2 separate regions of the Homo sapiens genome follow, and region 2 is linked to region 1. Evidence: promoter capture Hi-C in 16 types of primary human blood cells and fetal thymus (Javierre and others, 2016). All regions are on one chromosome and are shown on one strand. Each heading gives the region's core, a stretch centred on a gene start or on the middle of the fragment in contact. The rest is flanking DNA. Distances are from core to core; before and after follow the strand shown. Region 1 holds the start of POLI (DNA polymerase iota). Region 2 overlaps CCDC68 (coiled-coil domain containing 68).

Region 1 (6,209 bases), core at 3,007-5,506:
AAAGCACGTAACTGAAGACCAATTCTTCATTACAACTGGAGACCCTAATCTGAAGAGGCTAGTTGGGAGCAAGGTGGTGTAGACACTACTGGTATCCCAACCACGGACCAATTGACACTTTGGGATGAATAATTCTTTGTCATAAAGGTTTGTCTTTGCACTGCAGGATGTTCAGCAATATCCCTGGCCCCTACCCATTAGATGCCAGTAGCACAGAGCTCCAACACAGAGATGTGACCACCTAAAATATCTCCAGACACTGCCAAATATTCACTAGGGAACAAAATCAGCTTGCTTGAGAACGATTGCGTTAGGCCAAAGACCTCACAAAATCAAATCCTCTGTGCCTTTGCCAATTCAAATTGCTCCTTTAACTCCATGGTCAACTCTACCCACTTAGCCACCCACCAACATAAAATACAGACACAAACACCCTCACATTCTTCATATGAAATACCTTGAACATTGTCTAGTGTTCTTCCTCTGAGCCATATGTGGCCAATTTGGCTAAGAGGAGAGAAGTAACCACTGATGCCTATTTCCTACCCTCCACTGACATGGGAGTTCATGCTTATCCTTTTAAATGTATTTAAGTTCATAATGTGCTGACTTTCTTTCTTTGTTTCTTTTTGGAGATGGAGTCTCGCTCTGTTGCCCAGGCTGGAGTGCAGTGGCATAATCATACATGACTGAAGCTTCAAACTCCTGGCTTCAAGCAATCCTCCTGCCTCAGCCTCCTGAGTAGCTGGGATTACAGATGTGAGCCACCGTGTTGGCATGTCTTGACTTCTGAAGCTCTAAAATGCCTCCAGCTTCTTTATCCACTAGCCACGCTCTGTAAATCCATGCTCCTCCATAAATTTTGTTTGACCATAATATTATTTAATTAACTATGTCTATTCTGCCTTGAAATTGTTTTCTTCATTTGGCACTTAAATATACAGTTATGACCCAAGCTCAAGACAGCTATTTCCTGAAGTTATTCTAGATTAGATCCTATTAATTAAAACTGGGAGTAGGGATTTTTAGAATCAAACCCCAAAATCCTTTTTTCCTAAAACATTCCAAAACAATGAGACACGTTAGCTTATATAAATTTTATTTTCGTGCCTCTTAATACCTTTGAGGGATGTTTATTCTCCCCACTACCAGCCGTCTGGTGTTTGAAGCAGTGAGGAAAATGGTCAGAGCTAATTGATTTCCTATATGGAGAAAACATTATTAATGAATTCTTCACTGTGGAAAATTCTGAAAAGTGGATCTGCCATTACTAGATTCATAGCCTTGAGCAAGCATGTTAATCTCTCCTAGGCTATTTCATCTTTGGTAAAATGAGGATGCTGACATCTACCCTCTAGGGCTATTATATTGAATGAAATGACCTGTTTCAAGCTTTTAGCCCTGTGCTTGATATACAGGTGTTTTATGAGTGTCCTTTTTAGTGCTGCTTCTCTTCTTTATTTCCAGCACTTGCTAAATACTTTCTGGGGTCCAGGGCAAAATGAAAATATGGGGCTTCCTTGTTAAAAAATTAAGAATTTCAAGACAAGAGCAGAATATGAAATCAAGTGTTGAGCCCTATGTGACTGCCTACGTCACATACTCATCAAGCCAGCCCTGCTTGCTCCCCTAGGATTTCCAAGGGTCTACTTTTCTATCCTTTCACGAAATTAAAAGCCACTCTTCAAATTAAACAACGGATGGGGAAATAAATGCAACTAACTAAAGAGGGCTTGATTACGTGCATTGTTTTTTAACACTGTCTCACTTAAGCAACATGTTGAATGTTAGTGAGCCTAGGGCTCTTCTAGAGAGACCGTTTTCATCTGCCATAGTATTTTAGTGTTTATATCATTTTCTATCTGGAAGAATGAAAAGAAAAACAAACTTTGGTTGTCTATTAGTAATCAGACCACTGAATGTTGTCCAAGAAGCACTTAGTGGACAAAGAGACACTCAATTCAAAAGCTCTCTATGTAGGCTGGGTCGCGGTGGCTCATGCCTGTAGTCCTAACACTTTGGGAGGCCAAGGCGGGCGGATCACTTGAGGTCAGGAGTTGGAAACCAGCCTGGCCAACATGGTGAAACCCTGTCTCTACTGAAAATACAAAAATTAGCTGGGTATGGTGGCACACGCCTGTAATCACAGCTACTCAGGTGGCTGAGGCAGGAGAATTGTTTGAACCCAGGAGGCAGAGGTTGCAGTGAGCCCAGATCGCACCACTGCACTCCAACCTGGGAGACAGACTGAGACTCTGTCTCAAAATAAATAAATAAATAACTAAATAAAATGAAAAACCACCAAACAACTATCTAGACTTATCAAACAGCTTTCACAAAGATAGCAGCCTAGCTCTCTGAACAGGTAATTTATAACCTAGATAGCAGACTTTGAAAGAACTGGTCCAGACATCTAAGAATTAAATATGCAAAGAGGAAGATTTTGTTTCCAAACCACTGAGACCCAGCTCTGCTTGTTATTCCCTTTTCTTCATGGATGCATCAACATATCCTTTAAAGCAGGGGTCCCCAGTCCCCAGGCCATGGACCAGAACCAGTCCCTGGCCTGTTAAGAACCATGCCGCATAGCAGGAGGTGAGTAGCGGGCCCGGGAGTGCAGCTTCATCTGTATTCACAGCCACTCTCCACTACTGGCATGACTGCCTGAGCACTGCTTCTTGTCAGATCAGCAGCGGCATTAGATTCTCACAGGAGCCTGAACGCTACTGTGAACTCGCATGCGAGGGATCTAGGTTGCATGCTTCTTATGAGAATCTAATGCCTGATGATCTATCACTATCTCCCATCACCCCAGATGGGACAGTCTAGTTGCAGGAAAACACGCTCAGGGCTCCCACTGATTCTACCTCATTATCTATTAAAATGTAATAATAATAGAAATAAAGTGCACAACAAATGTAACGCACTTGGATCATCCCAAAACCATCCCCCTCCCTTCTGTCTGTGGAAAAATTGTCTTCCATGAAACCAGCCCCTGGTGCCAAAAAGGTTGGGAATGGCTGCTTTAAAGGGTTTCTCAAGGTTCTAATATTTTATTTGATAAGAAGTAGAATCATATAAAAAACCAAACATATGTGTTAATTTGGGTATTTATACAGATATAGTGTATATACATACATACAGGCATGGAGGAATTTCCAAATTTCCTCTATTGTAAAACATACACATACACACACCAACACACACATGCACACATGGTATCCTAATAGAAGGCAAGGAGAATAGACATTTACTGAGCACTTCCTATGTGCCACATGTTTTATATACATTAGGATATTACAGTATATGGTAGCTTTTATCCATTCATTCAATCTCAATACTTTTTTTTTTTTTTAAGAGTAGAGCAACTGAGGCTCACAGCAGTTATGTAACCTGCCCAAAGTCACACAGCATGATGGAGGGTCTGGATTGGAGATTTTGTCTGACTACAACACTCATGTATCAAATCCTATTCAGTTTTGATGTTAAAAATTCTGTGGTTGAATTCGTCACAGTGTCTTTAAATAAAACAACAACAAACAAAACACAGCAAACCTTAACATAGTTGCTAATCATATGAGTTTACAAGGCCACCTGTGTCTTTACTATCAGTTACACTCCTTCCCACCCCATCACATTAATCACTCAGGTCTAGGGATTTGCAAGTTTGCTAACAGCCGAATGGAACAAAGACAAAACGCTAAAATTTGTGATGTGGGCCTAACTCCAAAGCCTTCAAGAAAAAAAAAAAAAGGCCAGGCGCAGTGGCTCATGCCTGTGATCTCAACACTTTGGGAGGCCTAGGAGGGTGGATCACCTGAGGACAGGAGTTCGAAACCAGCCTGACCAACATGGTGAAACCTCGTCTCTACTAAATACAAAAAAATTAGCTGGGCGTGATGGCGCATGCCTGTTAATCCCAGCTACTTGGGAGGCTGAGGCAGGAGAATCGCTTGAATCCGGGAGGCAGAGGTTGCAGTGAGCCGGTATTGCGTCACTGTTGCCCACTCCAGCCTGAGCAACAAGAACGAAACTCCGTCTCAAAAAAAAAAAAAATAGCCATTTGTGCTTTCAATCTCTCCGCTTCCGGCCTCCACCCGGCGGGAAAAAACTCCCGCACGTGGGCCTCCACGATTCCTTGGCATGCGTGTCACTCTGGGCAACAGGCTGGTCGGCCACGACTGCGCAGGCGAGAGGCACAGAGCGACTGGAGACTGTAGTCCCCCGGTTTCCCTGGAGACCAGGCGGAAGCGGCCGGAAGTAGCGCTGCGGTTGGCAGCGGCGGGATGGAGAAGCTGGGGGTGGAGCCGGAGGAGGAAGGCGGCGGCGACGACGACGAGGAAGACGCCGAGGCCTGGGCCATGGAACTGGCGGACGTGGGGGCGGCAGCCAGCTCGCAGGGTGCGCCGCAGCCAGAGGAGCCAGCGGCCTCCTTGGGTGTAAATGAGAAGGGTGGGGCAGGCGGACGCTCGGGGCGGCGGCCACTGGGGCGCGACCGTCCCCGCCCCACTCGGCTCCTCTAAGAGAGGGCTGCCTCCCTCTGCCTTGTGTTACGCGGCGGGTACCTCTAGAGGAATGGCTTCACCCAGCAGGAGTAGGGTGGGGCGCGTCCACACTACAAATACGTGTCGAGGGTTTATCTGCGCCGTCCTTTCCTCTGTGAGGGGCGAGGTGGGGCGGGAATCCCTCAGCCAGCCCGACGAAAACTGCAGAGGCTTCTGGGCCTTTTAACTTTGGAGAAGTTGAGGACCTTGTCGCTCATTTGGCAGAAGGTGGGACCCGGATCTCAGTCCTGGCAGGAAGGGATGGCTCAGAACCTAGGCGGAGTCAGGTCCGCTGTGGTCACGTCTCCGGTGACCCACTTCCAGCTCTGGTCTTTACCTTGTACCGCCCACCTCAGGGCCTGGATGTAAAGGCACCGGTTCTCATTTCCTGCTGGTTTTGTTTCATTCATTAATTTAGAGACAAGGTCTCCCTGCAGCCTCGAACCCCTGGGCTCAAGTGATCCTCCGCCCCAGCCTCTCCGTCCCGAGTAGCTGGGACAGCAGGCACGTGCCACCACACCTGGCTGATTTTCAGATTTTTTTAGATCAGGTGTAGCTGTGTTGTCCAGGCTGGTCTCAAACTCCAGCCACAAGCGATCCTTCCACCTCAGCTTCGAAAAGTATTGGGATTACAGTAGTTAGCCATCGTGCCTGGCCTTTTAAATTTTGGAACTTTAGGTTTACCTGAAAGTTGCAGAGCTAGATCCCCCTAGTGTTAACATAAACTCAGTACATTTGTCAAAACTAGGAAATTAACATTGGTATAATACTATTAATTGAACTACACGCTTTATTAATATTCTACCAGTTTTTCTGCTAACGTTCATTTTCTGTTCCAGGATCCCAACCAGAATATTGTATTGTATTTTGCCTGTCTTGTTTTTAGCCAGTGTTGAGAGAAGGAGTCGCCTCTGTCATTCCCTCCCCGACAAATAATGACCTAACAACTTTTTAAAATCAAAGAACTATTCAGTCTTTCAATTTAGTGAATATTTATTGGTGGTCTGTTATGTCCTAGACACTGTTTTAGGCACTGGCGATTTAGCATTAAACCAGATAATCCTGCTGCCATGGGAGCTAAAAATAGCCCACACTTGTACCCACTGGTTGTCTTTTGCCATTTTGTATTTCAGTTTTTGTTGGTTTGTTTGTTTTAAATGTAAGGGCATGCTGCTTAGAATAATTTTCAAGCTGTGTGAAAATCAACGTCATTTCAACTTTTCTGCCCCTTCTGGTTTACACTAAGAGCTACTATAAACTTCCAGGTGATAGTATTAGCTCTTTCATCATCCATTATTTATCACATTTTTTCCCTTCAAACTTATTACTATCCTGAGAAAAACGCAGTGCACAAACAGTAATTAAGAGGACTGAAGACCCTACCCTAAGTGGAGTTTCATGTCTTTGTAATTTTTCGATGCTTTCACACATAATCCAGGAGAAAACACGTCACTCTGCATTCTTCCTTCACAGGTACCATGTTTTAAGGAACTGTCAGTTGCTCAGAGATAATAAGCAGCCTGAATTTCTTTTTATTTCTTTGCATATTGTGCAGGAGTTCATGATCAAGTGTTGCCCACACCAAATGCTTCATCCAGAGTCATAGTACATGTGGATCTGGATTGCTTTTATGCACAAGTAGAAATGATCTCAAATCCAGAGCTA
Region 2 (7,266 bases), core at 451-2,950, 680 kb after region 1:
ATAATTTGAAACATTGAAAAACAGCTGAAAGCTTCAGCCAATGTTCAGTTCAGCAACTAAACTGCAAAAAGGTACAAAGCACATGCATCCCTTCCCATCTGGAGAAGAGTGGGAAGGAGGGGCCAGGATTTGTTAAGTGAGGACTATATGCCAGGTAGGGTATGCTCTCTATAATACTTCTCACATATGCCCTGAGAGGTTGATATTATTATTCCCATTTTGCAGATGAAGAAACAAGGCTCAACAAGATAAACAAAGATAACTAGTTGGTGGCCATTGGATCCCAAACCATGAGTTGTCTGGCTCTTTCTCATGAGTCTACTAGCTCCTTCTAACTTACCACTTTGCCTCTGCTACATTCTGAAGGAGTTTCTAAGCCTCAACTTCTTGGGCCCAAGATAGCTTAAGAATCAAAGTTTTCCAAAGTAGGTCACCAAGTAACAGTCACAGAACTCCTGATGGGAGGTCCCAGGTGTGTCCTTCAGGAGCCTGAACAGATGTTGTTGTCCCAGTAGATTTATTCCATGAACAAAGGCAGTTTGGCTGCATGGCTTAAAAACAAGGGATTTGGACTCAGTTGTTCTGCCTACAAGACTCTGTTCCACTTCATCACCAGCTGGGAGGTCTTGGAAAATCATTTAAACTCCCTAAGCCTCAGTTCCTCAACAGAAAAATTCAGATGAGAATGCCAACCTTCTCAGAGCTATGTGAGGATTAAATGAGATAATGCATGAAAAGTGCTTAATGGAGCATCTGACTTCATGCACATTAAATTAATATTAAATCATAATGTTTATACTCACAACTTATTGTGGACATTTGCTTGTAGGACATGATTTGAAAGTGTCAATTCCCAAGCTTAGTTTTCCCCTCACTATTCTTTCCTTAACCCATCAGCCAATTATTCCTCCTGATTTGAACTTCTCTATTAACAAGTCAACCCAAAAGCTGAGTAACACTTGCCAGTCAATAAAATATAAAAGGAAGCTGAGGTCAATGACATATGTCACAGTCACTTGCAACATTTACATGATGCCCTTTTAGAAAATGTCATTTGTGGCTCTATAAAATATTTTAGGAGTGAAGAGCCCAGGAATTTATAAAATACCTACAGTTTTCTGAGCTTGTCCTGGATTATTTTAGCTTGAACATAATTTATGTCATTTAAAAAAATTATCCAGCAAGGGGAAAAAGAGAAACCATACCAGTTCTGGTGAGGATGTGGAACAGTTGGAACTCCTGTCTGTTGCTGATGGGAATGGAAAATGTGGAGCTGCTGCGGACAACAGCTTGGCAGTTTCCTATACAGTTAAATACATAGTATACAACCCAGAAACCCCATGCCTTGGTATTTATCCAAGTGAAATGAAAAGTTATATTCCATAAAACCTGCACACAAATGTTCATAATTGCCAAACACTGCAAACAAGTCAAATGTTCACCAACAGGTGAATACAACTCCTCATTAAGAAGGAATGGACCAGGCATGGTGGCTCACACCTGTAATCCCAGCACTTTGGGAGGCCGAGGCGAGCTGATCACCTGAGGTCAGGAGATCGAGAGCAGACTGGCCAACATGGCGAAACCCCATCTCTACTAAAAATACAAAAATTAGCCAGTTGTGGCGGTGCACGTGCGTAATCACAGCTACTCAGGAGGCTGAGGCACAAGAATCGCTTGAACCTGGGAGGCAGAGGTTGCAATGAGCTGAAATTGTGCCACTGCACTCCAGCCTGGGTGACAGAGTGAGACTCTGTTTCAAAAAAAAAAAAGGAATGTATTACGGATACACCCAACAACATAGATAAGTGTCAAATGCATCATGCTAACTGAAACAGCCAAATTCAAGGAGCTACATATTCTATGGTTCCATTTGACATTCTAGAAAAGTAAAAACTGTAGGAATCAAAAGGGATAGTGGTTACTTGGGACTGGCAGTGGGGGACAGGTTAACTACAAAAGGAACACATAGGACTTTGGAGTGGGGGAATATATCTTGTTAGTGATCATGGTTCTATGACTATAACAATTTCCAAAAACTTACAATAGTCTATACTGAAAAAGATGAATTTGTACATGTTATTTAAAAAATAGTAACCTGGCAGGATCTAAAAAAAGCAATGCACAACTGAGATTTCAAAATCCAAGAACCTTCACTGATTTTATCAGAAGTAACTGGAAGCCAAAATTAATTGGATTTGTTTTTCTTCATTCAAATTCTTGACCCCCAAAAGAGTGTAAATGATTATATATATACATACACACACACACACACACACACACACACATATATATATATAGAGAGAGAGAGATACATAGATAGAGAGCAATGGAATCAGGGTTGTTAAAAACAACAGGCAACTGGGCTGCTGATTCTAGCTCACGCTACATGACTAGTCAATTAAACTTAGCATTCAGTATGACAGAAACAAGGAAAGCCTTTTAAACATTTTTAAAAACTTAATCATAAGCACTGTTTATTAAAGGTGATAAAGTAGAAGGAAATATACAATAATACATAAGAAATATAAGAATATTTCCAACAAGCTTTAAATCTAATTTGTGAACCTAGAACTTCTTTTCTCATCTACCCATTCCTTTTCTAATAGCTTTCTAGATGCACAATATGTTTTCATTCTTCATATTTGTCCATCTGCACATACACTGTTGGATCGATGATGAAAATATCTACTTATTCAGGGCCTGAAACAGCCAGGACCCTCCCCTCCCCTCCCCTCCCCTCCCTTCCCCTCCCCTCCCCTCGCCTTCCCTTCCCTTCCCTCCTTCCTTTCTTTCTTTCTTTCTTTTTTTTTTTTTGTTTCAGACATAGTCTCACTCTGTCACCCAGGGTGGAGTGCAGTGGCTCAATCTCAGCTCACCGCAACCTCCACATCCCAGGTTCAAGCAATTCTCCTGCCTCAGCCTCCCGAGTAGCTGGGACTACAGGCATGTGTCACCACACTCGGCTAATTTTTGTATTTTTAGTAGAGATGGGGTTTTACCATGTTGCCTATGGCTGGTCTCAAACTCCTGACCTCAGGCGATCCACCCGCCTCAGCTTCCCAAAGTGCTGGGATTACAGGTGTGAGCCACCATGCCGGGCCATGACCCTACTTTTTATCAACACCATCGCCCACCCTCCCACACCATGAAGACGTTTGACTTATCCAAGAGCAGCATCCTACCAAAATCCAGGTGTTTATAGAAAGATAGAAGAGTCAGAGGCAGCTTCCCACTTTGGGTAAAACTAAGTTCCTTGTATCAGATCACAACAATGTAAGTGACCTAATCAAAATAAATAGCAGGTGCTTACAGCTCAATACTAATCAAGCCTTCTTTCTCTTGATAAACCAACATAGCTTGGTGAATGTCTCTGCCCTGATCCTGATCCCTGGAGTATATGAAAGTGAGAATGATGAAGGTGGATTCCTGTAGATGGTAAATACCTCTTAGGAGATACTTGCTATAAAATCGTGAGTATAAGGCTAGAAAAAAAATGCATTTGTTTTAGAATTTTAAAAATCCTTACCAAGGAAACAAAGGTGTATTACCAAACAAGATTGATTACTCCATCCAATCACAAACAGATCATCAAAACAGTAGTAGTATTCTCATCTAGGAGTTTTAGGAAGTTGTTTGACATTTCAAGCAGAAAAAAATGAGTTGCAAATGAAGACATTCAGCTTTGGAAAACTATATTATTTAACCTACATTATCTTCTTTTCAAATTGTAGATGTTAAAAAAAATAGTTTGCATTCTAAATTGCCAATAAAATAGACTTCAAAAGTTGGCCACAGTGGTTCACATCTATAATCCCAGCACTTTGGGAGGCCAAGGTGGAAGGATTGCTTAAGGCTGGGAATTGGAGGCCAGTCTGGGTAACACAGTGATGCCCCATCTATGAAAAAAAAAATTTAATTAGCTAGGCATGGTGCCACATTCCTGTAGTCCCAGCCATACAGGAGGCTGAGTGAGGCAGGAGGATCACTTGAGCCCAGGAGTTTGAGGCTTCAGTGAGCTAGGATCCTGACACTGCACTCCAGCGTCAGTGACAGAATACAACCCCGTCTTGAAAAACACACACACACACAAACAGACCTCAAGTTATTTTGATGCTCTTTTTTTTCCCCCAAAAGGAATTTGCAATTTGAGTAGTAACTTAAGGGCACTCAGAGAGACACTGTCTTCTTTTTAGGCTCACAGAACTGGCTAGATTTTTATAAAAGGATTTCTGTTCTACTAGAGAAATCTTCCTAAGAGGATATTTAAGCATAAGTTGTGAAGCATGACCCGCCCCCACCACTCAAAATGCATTTGCCATAATAGTTAGCACAAAGCAAGGTCAGTGGAGATATATAAGAAAACAATTCTGGCTGGGAACTGCTATTCCAGTTTCCTGATTCCTAACAGAGGTATACCAAAAGTCAATGTTCTTGCAAAGTTAAGAAGTTCTTTTTTGTTTGTTTGTTTGTTTGTTTGTTTGAGGCAGAGTCTCGCTCTGTTGCCCAGGCTGGAGTGCAGTGGTGACATCTCAGCTCACTGCAACCTCCACCTCCCAGGTTCAAGCAATTCTCCTACCTCAGCCTCCCCAGGAGCTGGGATTACAGGCGCATGCCACCACACACAGCTAATTTTTAAAAAATCATTTTTAGTAGAGAAGGGGTTTTACCATGTTGGCCAGGCTGGTCTCCAACTCCTGACCTCAGGTGATCCACCTGCCTCAGCCTCCCAAATTGCTGGGGAAAATTAGAAGTTCAGACGAGTCTTGCTCTGTTGCCCAGGCTGGAGTGCAATGGTGCAATCTTGGCTCACTGCAACCTCTGCCTCCCTGGTTCAAGCGATTCTCCTGCCTCAGCCTCCCGAGTAGCTGGAATTACAGGCGCATGCCACCACGCCCAGGTGATTTTTGTATTTTTAGTAGAGATGGGGTTTCACCATGTTGGTCAGGCTGGTCTCGAATTCCTGACCTCGTGATCTGCCCAGCTCAGCCTCCCAAAATGCTGGGATTATAGGTGTGAGCCACTGTGCCCAGCCAAGGTAAGAAGTTCTTAACATTGGTTTGTTGGAGAGTTACACACAGAAAACACCACTGCTTAATAGGAACCTGGATGTTTAACTCTTGGCATTCATATTTAAAATTATCATAGAAGAGAGTCAAAGCACCAAATAAGAGGTTGGCTCATATCAGTTATTCTCACATTATGCTACCATAGAAGCTGCACCAATGTATCTGTTTTACCATGCAAAAGTATTTGCAGAAAGGTCTACCAAATGGTGAACAAAATGCGGCATAGCCATGGCATGGAATAAATCCTAGTTAAGCAATAAAAAGGAACCAACTACAGCTACATGTGACAACCTGAATAAACCTCAACAGCTATTCTAACTGAAAAAAGCCAGATGCTAAAGACTATATATTGTACGATTCCATCTGTATGAAATGTCCAGAAAAGGCAGATCTAAACAGACAAAATAGATTAGGGGTTGCTGGGGCTGGGGTAAGAACGGTGAGTGATTGCAAACAGGCCCCAGGGATATTTGGGGAATGATGAAGTGATCTAAAATTGGATTGTGCTAATGGTTGCACCATTCAGTAAATTTACCAAAAATCATTGAATTATACACTTGGATGTATTTTATGGTATGTAAATTATACCTCCAATAAAGCTTTTTTAAAAAAAAATACAGAAGGAAAAGTAAGAATAACTTGAATAAAGATGCTGTTTTCCTCTGGGGGTGGGGTGAATGTAACTGTAGTCTTATTTTTCTAATTTATAGGAAAAAATATAATTTAATGGATAGATGTTTTTCAGTTTTAAATTTTTTGTTCATTAATTTTTGTCTCTAGATTATTGTCATCCATACTACAAGTTTAGTTTTTATTTAATTTGCATGAAATTGATACTTAGCTATTTTAAGTTAATATTTCATAACATTAAGCCTGGAACACATGATTCCTAAGTTCTTCCCCAACCTAAACAAAAGAGAAAACCACTGAGCAGAATAACATGCAAGCTCCTCTATCATTTTTAGACTTGACTTTTTAAATCAGTGAAAGGAAATATGTGATTTGAAACTAATCTAGTTTTAGTCACTGTCGAAATTGAATGGATCATTTATGTGGTCTGTAAATCTATGGCCTTGACTTGGGGTGGCCTGGAGGACTCCAATGTAGTAAATTCCAGGAGGATAGAAATGTGTCTGATTTACACAGGGCTGTGTTTGGCCCAGACCCTACTTCCCCTCCCATCTGGTTCTCCCACACAGAACACAGTGTCCTCAATAAATATTGTTTCAATGAATACATGAATAGGCCCACAAATTTACAGATGTACCAAATAGTTTCTAAAACAATGTACACACACACACACACACTCTCTCTCTCTCTCTCTCTCTCTCTCTCTCATTTTCCAAACCTATATAAATGGCTGTTTTTGTGCTTAGTAAATGACATTCATTTAAACGTGTTAGTAAATTCATGGTAAAATTTTGCCATTATGAAATGTTTTCAATCAATAAATAGCCATATAATTTTGATGTAAATATCTCAGTTCTAAAGATGAGAAACTACTATTTTAAAAGACTTTTACATTCCCATCAAAATCTTCAGTTATTTCCCCTTTCAGTCATTATTCCAAGCAAATAAACACCTCATTTTTCAGGTTTGTCTAAATCTAGCTTACATTTTTTAGCTTTGGCCAAAATTTGGATTACAACTCACCTTCAATGTTGAGCATACTGTAAACAAATAAGCTAACAAATAACATGCCTATCAGTAATTCACAAAATAGCAACAGTATTAATTTCAAAAGTCTCTTTCTAGTTAGGACAAGGGATCAATTTATTTTGTAAATAACAAGAGGAAAGAACCTTCTTATGACGTCGGCCTTATGACGTTGGCCTGGGTCCCAAGAAGTGTAGTTGTTTTCATTCTTTCTGCAAACATTTGAGGAACCACACGGGGATACTCCCTGCCTTGGGCAGAAATTCCTCTGTGTCAGGGGCCTTCCCTCTCAAATTGGGAGTGGGGTGGGGAAGAGAGTGGGCAGCGGGGGAAAAGCATAACAACAGCACCAATTGTGTCTGCCAGGGTACCTGACACTCCTGCCCAGCTCACATATCAGGAAAACCAGACTTCAGTAGCTCTGAATATTTAATGGCATTAGGTAAAATCAAAAGAACAGATTATCTCCTCCCTATCACAAACACAGAATAATTCCTTTTTGTATTCTGACACTTCATCCGAACTATATACACCAAGAAAG

Evidence for each region. Contacts are between HindIII fragments. The CHiCAGO score rates a contact against its expected background, and 5 or more counts as called.
Region 2: a fragment that was not itself captured here is called in contact with the fragment with the promoter of POLI in region 1 in 4 of 17 cell types (M2 macrophages, erythroblasts, monocytes and 1 more); the score reaches 14.5 in M2 macrophages.

What each region holds. Positions count from the first base shown.
Region 1 is chr18:54,265,261-54,271,469 of GRCh38, forward strand. POLI (DNA polymerase iota) reads left to right here and starts at 4,257. Exons shown (of 10, transcript NM_007195.3): 1 at 4,257-4,401; 2 at 6,100-6,209. The coding sequence starts at 4,287. It overlaps LOC124904307 (a long non-coding RNA gene), which reads right to left and starts at 4,645. Exons shown (of 2, transcript XR_007066379.1): 1 at 4,566-4,645. RefSeq lists enhancers at 3,619-3,768, 4,029-4,158, 4,689-4,738 and a silencer at 4,369-4,618. The HindIII fragment of the contact is 5,901 bases long and covers 1,391-6,209 here.
Region 2 is chr18:54,951,253-54,958,518 of GRCh38, forward strand. The region is part of intron 1 of CCDC68 (coiled-coil domain containing 68); the gene reads right to left. It also overlaps the pseudogene MAP1LC3P. Among named protein-coding and RNA genes, the nearest start is that of CCDC68, 4.6 kb to the right of the region's middle. The HindIII fragment of the contact is 1,689 bases long and covers 857-2,545 here.